2 separate regions of the Homo sapiens genome follow, and region 1 is linked to region 2. The links are contacts of gene promoters, found by promoter capture Hi-C in human tissues and cell types (Jung and others, 2019). All regions are on one chromosome and are shown on one strand. The core of a region is centred on a gene start or on the middle of the fragment in contact, and the rest is flanking DNA. Distances in the headings are between cores, read along the strand shown.

Evidence for each region. Contacts are between HindIII fragments. The study calls those that stand out against the background at their distance.
Region 1: a fragment that was not itself captured here is called in contact with the fragment with the promoter of MLF1 in region 2 in 1 of the 25 tissues and cell types used here (hippocampus).

What each region holds. Positions count from the first base shown.
Region 1 is chr3:158,793,494-158,799,262 of GRCh38, reverse strand. No RefSeq gene overlaps it. Among named protein-coding and RNA genes, the nearest start is that of MFSD1, 5.7 kb to the left of the region's middle. The HindIII fragment of the contact is 4,544 bases long and covers 2,151-5,769 here.
Region 2 is chr3:158,569,145-158,574,911 of GRCh38, reverse strand. It overlaps MLF1 (myeloid leukemia factor 1), which reads right to left and starts at 3,718. Exons shown (of 8, transcript NM_001369783.1): 1 at 3,565-3,718. The coding sequence starts at 3,611. MLF1-DT (MLF1 divergent transcript) reads left to right here and starts at 3,846. Exons shown (of 5, transcript NR_104147.1): 1 at 3,846-4,741. The HindIII fragment of the contact is 8,231 bases long and covers 1-5,767 here.

The DNA of each region.
Region 1 (5,769 bases), core at 3,173-5,672, 220 kb before region 2:
CTATACCCAGTACTCTTGGGAAGTAATCATCATTATCAGATTATTTTGCATCCTTCCAGAGTTACTACACACAGTTGTTTTTCTTCCTTTCAGCCCAGCAGTGTGGCCTAGAAATTGTTCTTATTCTTGAGGACGATCTTGGAAACAGTCTGTTTGCCACACCATCCTAATCAAGCTTGTTACCAGATTTTTGGTCTTTGCAAATATGATCAGTGAAAATTTGCTATCATAGTGCAGTCTCAATTTATATTTCTATTATATTGAGGAATATTGAACCTCTTTTATGTGATTAACAGCCACTTATATTTGTTCTAGGAATAATCTTCATATCCTTTGCTTATTTTTCCAGATGAATTATTGAGGCTTTTTCTTATTGATTAAATAGGCTCTTTGTTGCTGATAGGAGCTGCATATATTTATTTTGACTCTGTTTACGGTAATATTTCCATATAGTTTCTAATGCCAAACTCTCTTTTTATTTTATAACTCCAGGGGTTTGCTTCTCACGCAAGATTTTCAACAGCCTCAATTGGTCTCTCTACTTCCGTTGTTGCATTTCTATGATATGTTGCCCGCACAACAATCAAAATGATCTTTTTAGTTAGTTTGGAGCTTTGGTTTGTCAAGGAATTATGAGTCAACCATCAATATTTGAACTAAAAGAAACAAAACTGGGCCAGGCACCGTGGTTCACACCTGGAAACCCAACACTCTGGGAGGCTGAGGTGGGGATATTGCTTATACTCAGGAATTGGAGACCAGCCTGGGCAACATGGCGAAACCTCATCTCTCCAAAAATACAAAACTTAGCCAGGTGTGGTGACATGCGCCTGTAGCCCCAGCTGAGGTGGGAGAATCACTTGAGCCCAGGAAATAGAAGCTGCAGTCAGCCGTGATTGCACCACTGCACTCCAGCCTGTGTGACATAGCAAGACCCTGCCTCAAAAAAAATAAAAATAAAAAAAAGCAACGAAACTGGATTTACTGTGTACTCTAATAAGGAAAAGCTATGCTGGGTCGGCACAGTCTCCCCAAGCAGAGCTGGCTGCTGATGCTCTATGGAGCTTTGGGGAATACAGAGTTCAGGAATAGGTGCATTTCAGAGGCAAAAGGGTTTGCCATCACCTGTAGAAGAGTAGATATTCTGGTAAGACTGTTATTAATTCTCCACTGAATTTATTGGAGTGAACCTGTCATTGGCTGACTTTGAGAAAGGAGGGGTTTTTCAAAACAAGTTTTACTGAGGCAGTTGATTAATTGAATGGGTTTAAAACTGGTTCTAGGAGTGTGGAAACTTGCTTTAATTCTCAGGGCTTCAAAAAATTATTATAGAAATGTGAAACCTACAGAAAAAAAAAAGGTAAAAAGGTAATGTACCCACCAAACTGAGCATCCAGAGAAGGACACAGGAAAGAGCTTTTTAGTCAGTGCCAACTCCCCTGTGCATGCCTGAGAACTTCTCCTTGGGGGCTTGCCCTTCCCAGGAGTTCAGGCTACCTGGTTACCTTGCAACCCAGCTGTGTCTGATGGTTTCAGTTAAGGTTGTGACTTTGTAGTTCATCTGAGTTTTTCTCATTATTGAGAAAGGAAAGATGTTCATTGCAGCTTTTCATATCCTAAGCACAAAAGAAGTCTTTCGTCTCAATTTTAACAGTACATTAATGGGGTATTACCCTTTTTCTCCCAGTTTCACAGTTGTCTTTTGTCTTTATGAAGTTTTTGGCTTATTTGTTTTGTCATGAAAAGGGTTTTTTTTAGAATATAGTCAAATTTATCAATTTTTTCTTTTATTGCATCTGGATTTTGAAACATAATTAGAAATCCTTTCCTTGTACCCAGGTTAAAGAAGAATTCACCCATTTTTTTTTCTAGTACTTGTATGGTTTCATTATTTAGATTTAGATTCCTGACCCATTTGGAGTTTATTCTTTTGCCTAGTATGAGGTATGGATCAAACTTTTTATCTTTTTCTAAATGGCTAACCAATTGTTAAGTCCATCTTTGTCCAAGTGATTTGAGATGCCACCTTTATTGCATACTAAATTCCCATATGTATTTGGGTTTACTTCTGGACTTTCTTTTCGGTTGTACTGCTCTTTCTTGTCATGCACAAGGACCACTGTTTTTATTTTAGAGGCCTTAGAATATGTTTTAGTGACTGGTAGATGTAGTCCCCTTTCATAGCTTTTATTTTTGTTTTCCTGGATATTCTTCCATATTTTTCCACCTGAAATTAGTATCAGCTTGCCTAGCTCCATAAGAAAACTGGTATTTTTTTAATGAACTTTGAAAATTAACTTAAGGAGACTTTAGTTTTTAATGTTAAGTCATCACATACAAAAAAAAAAAGTGGTGTTCCAGTTTTTCAAACTATTTCATGTCTTTTGAGAGTGTTTTAAAGTTTTCTTCATATATATTTTACAAATTTCTTGTTAAATTTATTATTCTTTGTTGCTTTTGTAAATGTAGTTTTCTCTACCTTTATGTCATGTTACTGATTATGTATGTGAAGGCTGTTGATTTATGTATGTTAAGTTTATGTCCTGCCAACTTATTGAATTCTTCTCTAGTTTGACTTAGTTTTGCTGTTAATTTTCTGTGATATTCCAGGTGTACTGTCATACCATCTGCAAAGACAAAGAGTTTTACTCACTCTTTTCTAGTTCTCCTGCCTTCAATTGATTTCTCTTTACTAACTGCAGTAGTGAGTATCTCCAGTTCAATGTTAAATGGCAGTGAAGATAGTGTACATTCTTCCCTTAGACCTGGGATAAATATTAAACAAACAGAAGAGAAAGGAATGCTCTTCCTTGTAATAGAAAGCCAATCAATACATGTAGAAGGAATGATGGAAATATAAAACCACTGTTTGCTAGGCATCATCATAATATCTGATCCAGGCAAGAATCAGTAGTTACTAAAATTAGTGGATAAAAGTTTGAAGTGTAAAGGATATATGCATAATCTCAAAGTAGCTCCTCACCAGAGATTTATTAATGACAAAGGAAAAAATAGTGCAGAAGCCTGGCCCACATACGTGAACCAAGTGATCATAGTTAATACTACCAGTATTGGAACAAAGTGACATTATGTGCCCCCAGATATGCACTGAAACTGAAAACACAAAACTCTGTGATTTACCTAACAAAAGCTCATCATACCTAAATCTCAGCATAAGGAAACATCAAACAAACCCAAATTGAAGGATATTATACAAAATAACTGGCCTGATTTCTCAGTGTCATAAAAGACTAAGGAACTGCCCTGATTAAAGAAGACTCCAGAGACATAACAGCTGAATGCAACACATGATCCAGGATTTCTTTGGCTATAGGGAACATTATTGGGACAGTTGACAAAATCTAAGTTCTGTAAGTAATTTGTATTCTGTCAGCATTTATTTTCTGATTTTGACTACTGGACTGTGGTTATAAAAGAAGGTACCTGTGGCCGGGCGTGGTGGCTCACTCCTGTAATCCCAGCACTTTGGGAGGCCAAGGAGGGCGGATGGATCACCTGAGGTCAGTTCAAGACCAGCCTGACCAACATGGAGAAACCCCATCTCTACCAAAAATACAAAATTAGCCGGGTGTGGAGGCGCATAGCTGTAATCCCAGCTACTCGGGAGGCTGAGGCAGGAGAATCGCTTCAAACCAGGAGGCGGAGGTTGCCGTGAGCTGAGATCAAGCCATTGCACCCCAGCCTGGGCAACAAGAGCAAAATTCAGAAAAGACGAAGACGAAGACGACGAAGACGAAGACGAAGAAGAAGAAGAGGAGGAGGAGGAGGAGGAACTTGTTTTTAGAAAACACATACTGAGATATTTAGAAGTCAAAGGACATGTACATATATTAGATATATATGTATATGGAGAGAGAATAAAACAAACATGGTAAAATGTTGCCATTTCAGGTGTCTGGGTAGAGGTATGTGGGAACTCTTTTTACTAGCCTTACAACTTTTCTGTAAATCTGAAACTATATACACCACACTTTGACCTCCTAAGAGTCTTGTGCATCTTTGTATCTCAAACATCTAGAACAGGGCCAGCTTGAAAACTGCTTAATAAGTGAATCCCTTAAATCAGGAGCACGTTACACCACCTAGTGGTGTAACAAAGGAAGCTTACTGCTGTGGAAAAACCTGTTCCTGTCCACAATGAACTTGCTCATTCTAACTGTGTTGACCTATTATTAGCCAAACAAATTGCACTTATTTTATAATTATCAAGTGATGGGAAAGTGAAAGCAATTTGGGGTGTAAGTATAGGCTTTATCATCTTGGACACAAGGTCACTAGACTGACCAGCCTGGTTTCACAGGTGTGGGGGTGGTTGCAGCCTCTGGAGCAAAGTTAGCCACACAGACAGAAAAGAGAATAGGGTAACTCCTAAAAATCCAAGTTCTGGATTCAGTCTTCATGTGCATTTACTTCCTACAACTCCTGAGTGCTGTGTGAGCCAAAACATTCTCTTTATCTTCATCCTTCATATTGGAAGCCAAGATGTAAACCCCTTCAATGCCTTCTTTTGTCTCCCCGGTCTACCCCCACCCCCACCTCTCCCCACCAGCAGTGCAGGTTTCTAGTATGGGACAAGAGAGGAGTGTCTGGTTCTGCTTGGGAGCCCAGAAGCAGTGAAAAATGAGCTTGATCTTGAAGAATGAAGAAGACTGGGAGTGGGGGTTGGAGGGGCAGAGTAAGGGCATTTCAGGCAAAAACAACATCATATACAAAGGCCTTAGAAAGAGATTCTGACTCTCTCAACTTCTATATTAGCTTCATCCAACTCTACATAGAAGATGTGCAAAGACAGCCTTTGAAGTCTGGTGAAAATAACTGCGTTGATTTGGATCATGGGATTAGACGTTGGTTTACTTCCATATAGTGACTCATGAAAAATAGTTTATGCTGACTTATGTAATCACAGGAATGAAAAGTTTTTGTATTATTATGTAAATGAAGTACCAATTTTAAAAGAAAAATATGTACTCTAGGAGTCTAAGGCTGTCCTTATATTTTAGAGCCTAACTGGCAAAACTAGTGGCCAAGATAGCAGGAAAGTGTCCACTGAGAGGTCTAGGGAGTTCATGTTCTCACTCCTAAGTGACTGCTAAAAAATGTGAACACATGGCCATAGAGAGTGGAATGATAGATGGTAGAGACTCAGAAGGGTGAAGGGTTGGGAGGGTGAATGTGAGAAATTCTGTACTGAGAAATTACTTAATGGGTACAATGTACATTATTTGGGTGATGAATACCCTTAAAAGCCCTGACTTGACCACTGCATGATCTATGCATGTAACAGAATTGCACCTGTACCCTATAAATGTTTACAAATTTAAATAAATGAATAATAGATCTGAAAGAATGTTTATGTGCTTAATAAATACTGCTTTTTATTGTACACTAGCCCCCGCCTTATCCTGGGGGAACACTTTCCAAGACTCCCCAGGTAGATGCCTGAAACCATGGAGTGTACCGAACTCCTATGTAAACTATGTTTTTTTTCCTATACATACATACCTATAATAAAGTTTAATTTATATATTAAACATAGTAAGAGATTAACAATAATAACTAATAATAACATAGAACAACTGTAATGATACACTGTAAAAAGAGTTATGTGAATGTGGCCTCTCTCCCAAATATTGTATTGTACATATTTTCTTATGTTGATGCAAGATGATACACTGCCTACATGATGAGATGAAGTGAGGTGAATGATGTAGTCATTGTGACAGCAATAAGCTACCATTGACCTTCTGT
Region 2 (5,767 bases), core at 2,469-4,968:
TCAAGGATATAATACAACTCGAAAATTGTCTATCATAATCTTCTTAGCTGTTACCAATTGTATGATGTCATATTTACATATGAATGACTTCAACACCTCAATAATCTATGGATTTGTAGTACTGTGATTCTCTTGAAAGCCAGAGCTTATGTAATACAAAATAATAAAATTATGGATTTTACAAAATAATATTCTCTGGCTAAATATTCTTTTTTTTTTTTTTTTTTGAGACAGTGTTTCACTCTTGTTGCCCAGGTTGGAGTGCAATGGCGCAATCTCGGCTCACTGCAACCTCCACCTCCTGGGTTCAAGTGATTCTCCTGTCTCAGCCTCCCAAGTAGTTGGGAGTATAGGTGTGTGTCACCATGCCTGGCTAATTTTGTATTTTTTTTTTTTTTTTTTTTTTAGTACAGATGGGGTTTCACCATGTTGGTCAGGCTGGTCTCCAACTCCTGACCTCTGGTGATCCACCCACCTCGGCCTCCCAAAGTGCTGGAATTACAAGCGTGAGCCACCAAGCCTCGCCTCTGGCTTTCAAAAGAGAGAATCACAATAATACAAAAATTTAAACCTGTTAAAATAACACTGTCCATATCCCAACAGCTCCTAAACACGTTAACTAAAATGGCATAATAAATTTGCCTGAGTTCATGTATGCCTTAATAAATAATCTTCAGAAAAAAATTTTAATCATTTTATTTTTCTATATTAACCATTTCATTTCCCACTGTTCATTATCTTTTTATTAATGTTATTTTGCTTTAAATTAGTACTAACATATTTAAGTCAATCATTTATTTAAACAACAACATTGGCTAGGTGCAGTGGCGCATGCCTGTAATCCCAGCATTTTGGGAGGCCGAGGGAGGCAGATCACTTAAGCTCAAGAGTTTGAGACCAGTCTGGGTAACACGGCGAAACCTCCTCTCTACAAAAAAAATTAGCAGGGTGTGGTGGCTCCCTCCTGTGGACCCAGCTACTTGTGAAGCTGAGGCAGGAGGATCGCTTGAGCCTGGGAGGCAGAGGCTGCAGTGAGCCGAGAGCAACCCACTGCACTCTAGCCTGGGCAACACAGTGAGACCCTGTCTCAAACAAACAAACACAGACGCACAACACACCCCCCACAGATATTGTTTGAAAAATATGTGCAATAAACTCTTATTTTAAGACCTTTTTAAAAAATGCTCTCCAAATTGCAAACCTAGAAAATTTAAGGGATCAAAATAAACTAGACTTGAAATCAAAATTCAAACTGGCAAAAAACACTTAGGCTAAAAAGTATTACAAATTTCCCCTCTTAGGGATACAACTAGACTATGTCAATGTGTTTGTAACAATGGCCAAAGTTAGAATTAAGGAAAAAAAATCCCACAACTCAAAAATAAATAATAGTGAAACCAATTTCTGGATGCCTTCTTTCTAGGGCATCACATTACTTCACTGGGAACCTTCAAAGGCAACGAATGGCACTTGCTTACCTGAGGTGTTAAATACACACCCCCCCCCCCCCGCCGCCCTCCTCCCGCCCCCCTCCCCCCGCCCCGCCCCATCAGCTTCCCTGTCCTATTTCTAGTTTTGACAGAAAGCGGAGTCCCTTCACAAACAAGGTTAGCTCTGTAACAAAGCGAGCAAAGAAAACAGCGCAATTGGCATGGCAACTTCCAACAACTTCGAAGAGAAAGCACAACTCTCCAACTTTGTCGTGCTCTCATTGACACATTCCCCACTCACATGGAAAATGCTGTTTTAAAAACTTCCCCTTTTCAATGAACTGTCATGCTATAAAATATTACCTGTTCCTATTTGGAATTTAAAGAGGAGCTATAAAATATTCCCTGCTCCCATTTGCAATTATGTGAACATAATTCTCACCATAAGTTTCACCGAGATGGTAGTTATGTCACCTGCAAAGCCCTTGAAGCTGCAAAGGCCAACTCTGCACACAGGAAGCCATGACGGGCACCCAAAGTCCGGCCAAATGGAAAGCAGCAGGCACCCCGGGAGTGTGAGGAAGGGCCTTCTTTCCATCTCATGCAGCCAAATCCTCCTCCCCCTACCTGGGGCCCTCAACTCTCTACCTCACGTCCTCAACCATCCTCCTGCGACCTCACGCCCCCAAACCCTCCTCCCCCCACTGCACGCCATCAACTCTCCTCTGTCCACCTCACACCCTCAACCCTCCTACCCCCACACCTCATGCCCCTAAACCCTCTTCCCCACACCTCATGCCCCCAAACCCTCCTCCCTCCACCTCACGCCCCAACCCTCCCTCGTCCCACTACCTCTCACCCTCAAACCTCTTCCCCCTACCTCACGCCCTCAACCCTCCTCCCACATCATGCTCTCAAGCCCTTCCCACCAACTCACGCCCTCAACCCTTCTCCCCAACCCTCCTCCCACACCTCATGCCCCCAAATCCTCCTCAGCCCCTAAATCCTCCTCCATCCACCTCACACCCTCAACCCTCTTACCGCCACCTCACGCTCCCAAACCATCCCCACCAACTCATGCCCTCAATCCTCCCCTGCACTTCATACTCCCAAACCCTCCCCACCAACTCACGCCCTCAACCCTCGTCCCTGCACTTCAAGCTCTTAACTCTCCCCTGCACCTCATGCTCCCAAACCGTCCCCCCACCTCACGCCCTCAACCCTCCTCCCCCCACCTCGCGGTCCAAAACCCTCCTTCCCCTCACCTCACACCCTCAACCCTCCCCCACACCTCATGCTCCCAAATCCTCCTCCCACCTCACGTCCTCAACCCTCCTCCTACACCTCACACCTTCAACTCTCCCCCACACCTCATGCTCCCAAACCCTCCCCCCACCTCACGCCCTCAACCCTCCTCCAAACGCCTCACACCCCCAAATCCTCCTTCGTCCATCTCACACCCTCAACCCTCCCCCCTCCACCTTACTCCCCCAAACCCTCCTCCTCCCACCCCACGCTCCCAAACCCTCCCCCCACCTCACAGCCTCAACCCTCCTCCCCCCACCTCACGCTTTCAAACCCTTCCCCCACCTCACGCCCTCAACCCTTCCCCTCACCTCACGCCCTCAACCCTTCCCCTCACCTCACGCCCTCAACCCTTCCCCTCACCTCACACCCTCAACCCTTCCCCTCACCTCACGCCCTCAACCCTCCTCCCTCCCACCTCATGCTCCCAAACCCTTCCCTCACCTCACGCCCTCAACCTCTTCTCCCCACCTCATGCCCTCAATTCTCCTCCCCCCACCTCCCGGCCTCAACTCTTCTCCCCCCACTCCCAGCCTTAACTCTCCTCCCCACACCTCACGCCCCCAAACTTCCCTCCGCCTACCTCACGCGTCCAAACCCTCCTCTCTCCACCTCATGCGCCCAAATCCGTCTCTTCCCTGTCTCACACACCCCTAAATCCTCCTCTCTCTTCCCTCCCAGGCCTCCAAATCCTCGTCTCCTTCAAACCGCCTCCAGAGTTACTCCGAATTCTCTCTCGCCCTCTAAAACTCGCTCTTTTCCCTTAAAATAGCTCCCCTCGATACCTTAATTCCCGCGCGACCCCGGACTCCTGGCTCCCGTAACTCACGAGAAGAAGGGGTCATCCTCAAAACTGCTGTTCAGCATCCTGAACATTCTGGCTCTGTCTTGGGTGGCGGCAGCCGCGGACAGATTGGAAAAACGATGTTAACTCGCCGCGGCCGCGACAAGAGCTAGCCTCCAGTACGGACGACGCCTCACTCGCCGCGGCGCAGGCGGTGCCCGCCGGGATAGGAGGTGCGTGACACCGAGCTGCTTTCCCATTGGACATTGCTCTGTGACGTCACCAGGACGAGGCGGGGAGCAATGCGCCGCTGCCCTGGCAACCGCAATCAACACAGTGGAGGCGAGAAGTCTGGCCTTGCGCCGGCCGGGGAGCTTTTCGCCAAGGCTCCTGTGGGATGGGATAGCTTGTTCTCTGGGCTGCAGGAACCAAAACATTAGACCACCCTTTCTGTGACCTTGGGCATGCCGCCCTCGGTTCCGAGCCGCAAGTCTTTCTTTCGGGGAAAATGAAAAGGGGTCAAGATTTGGACCAGATGACACCCAATGTCCCATTCAACGGTCGCATTCTGTCATCCACAGGAATTAGTCCTGTATCCGAAACATTCTCTGGTAGTCAAAAGCTGTGAGCAAATAATAAGAAAAAATGTGCAAAACGTTTTTTAGTACAGTTAGCAAATAGTGTACTCAGTTGTTGAAGGAAATGGGATGAAGCCTATCAGATTTCAACAAACTTATTTACCTCTTGAGAAAGCTGCTCTCTTTTCGGTTGTCCTTCTGTGTCTCTCTTTCAAAGATCAAGTCTCACTGCGATGCTGATATGTTTTTAACACTTCTCCAGCATTTCTTAACCTAACAGCAGGTTTCAGGCACAGGCCTGCAGCAAGCAGCCATATCCAACTAAAATTCCACTACTATATGTTTTTATTTGCATTACATTTATCAGGGAGCTTTCTATTTATGGCAAGGAAACTGATTTTAAATTTAAATCAGTGATATACATCAAGAGCTAGATTTTGCATTTTTAAGTGAAAAAGTAAGCTATCAAATAGAACAGGTGGAATTTGGATATGGTGGGGCGGAGGGGTAGGCAGAGCAGGGGAGAGGAACATCGTGATAGTGGTACTCAAATTACTAAGTTTTAGAAAACACTATCACGGGGCCTTTCAGGAGCCTGGAGACAGATGGAGGGGAAGACAGAAGAGAGATTAAGGAGAAGAATGGTAAGAGTATAAGAAAAGAGAAAATACATCTTGCATGTCCACCCTTAATTCAGTGAGCTCCCCAGCTTCTCTACGTGGCTGTCTTGCAGAGATAAAGGGGCGTCCATAGCTCATCAGGGCCCCCTGGGATCAGGCCAGAGGGGTGGCACTTTGCCAGCATGAAGAAGTGTGCAAGCCCTGATTTGGAGGTGACAGGAGTAGTCAGGGGTTATTTTGAGAGCTGGAAATTTAATCGTTTGGATCTTTTACTCCCCATCCCCCTTTTTTAGCCAAGTTCTCTGGCAGCTTCCTTCCCCTGAGACTGGTGGCATGGGGTAGGGCAGACTTCACAGCCCAAGATGAGATGGCACAGCCCATCCAGGAAAGAGGATATTTTCTTTTCCTCTGGACTCAGAATAAAGCTCAGAGAACATATACACAAAATTTCGAAAATTTCTAAATAAATTTCAAGGCAAACAAAATTGTTTTATAAGACCTTAAATTGTTTTTCTCTTTAAAATAGTATAAGCACAAGATGTGAAGGAGGCCACACTTAAAAAAAAACTTGAAATGGAGTAAGTTATGTGATAAAAGATGGTGTTAAAATAGTTCTGGATTAAGGCCAAGTAAATTTGTAATGTTACCCTCTAGTTTCTGTGGGAACTTTTTTAGAATCACATTGTTATAAAAGCTTTAGTCCAGGCACAGGTTAGTCAGGGAATTAGCTGAACCTTGTGAAAGCAGTTTGGATCTAATGACAAATGCAAAAAAAAAAAAAAAGGAGGGCAGAGCAGAGTTGGCACTGAAGAGACCTTGACATCATTTTCAGAACTGATGGGTAAGAGGTGGAAATGAAAGAAAGCGTGGGTCAGGAGAGAATGAATACTCCAGCATGGGAGGAATAGAGATGCAGAACAGGACTGAGAGGAGAGGGTCCTGGACTTGGCTGTAAATATAATCATAATAGCTAATATTTATTGAATGTGTGCCAGGCACTGTTGTAGGCACTCCATATGCATTACCTCATTGAATCCTCATTAGCAGTTT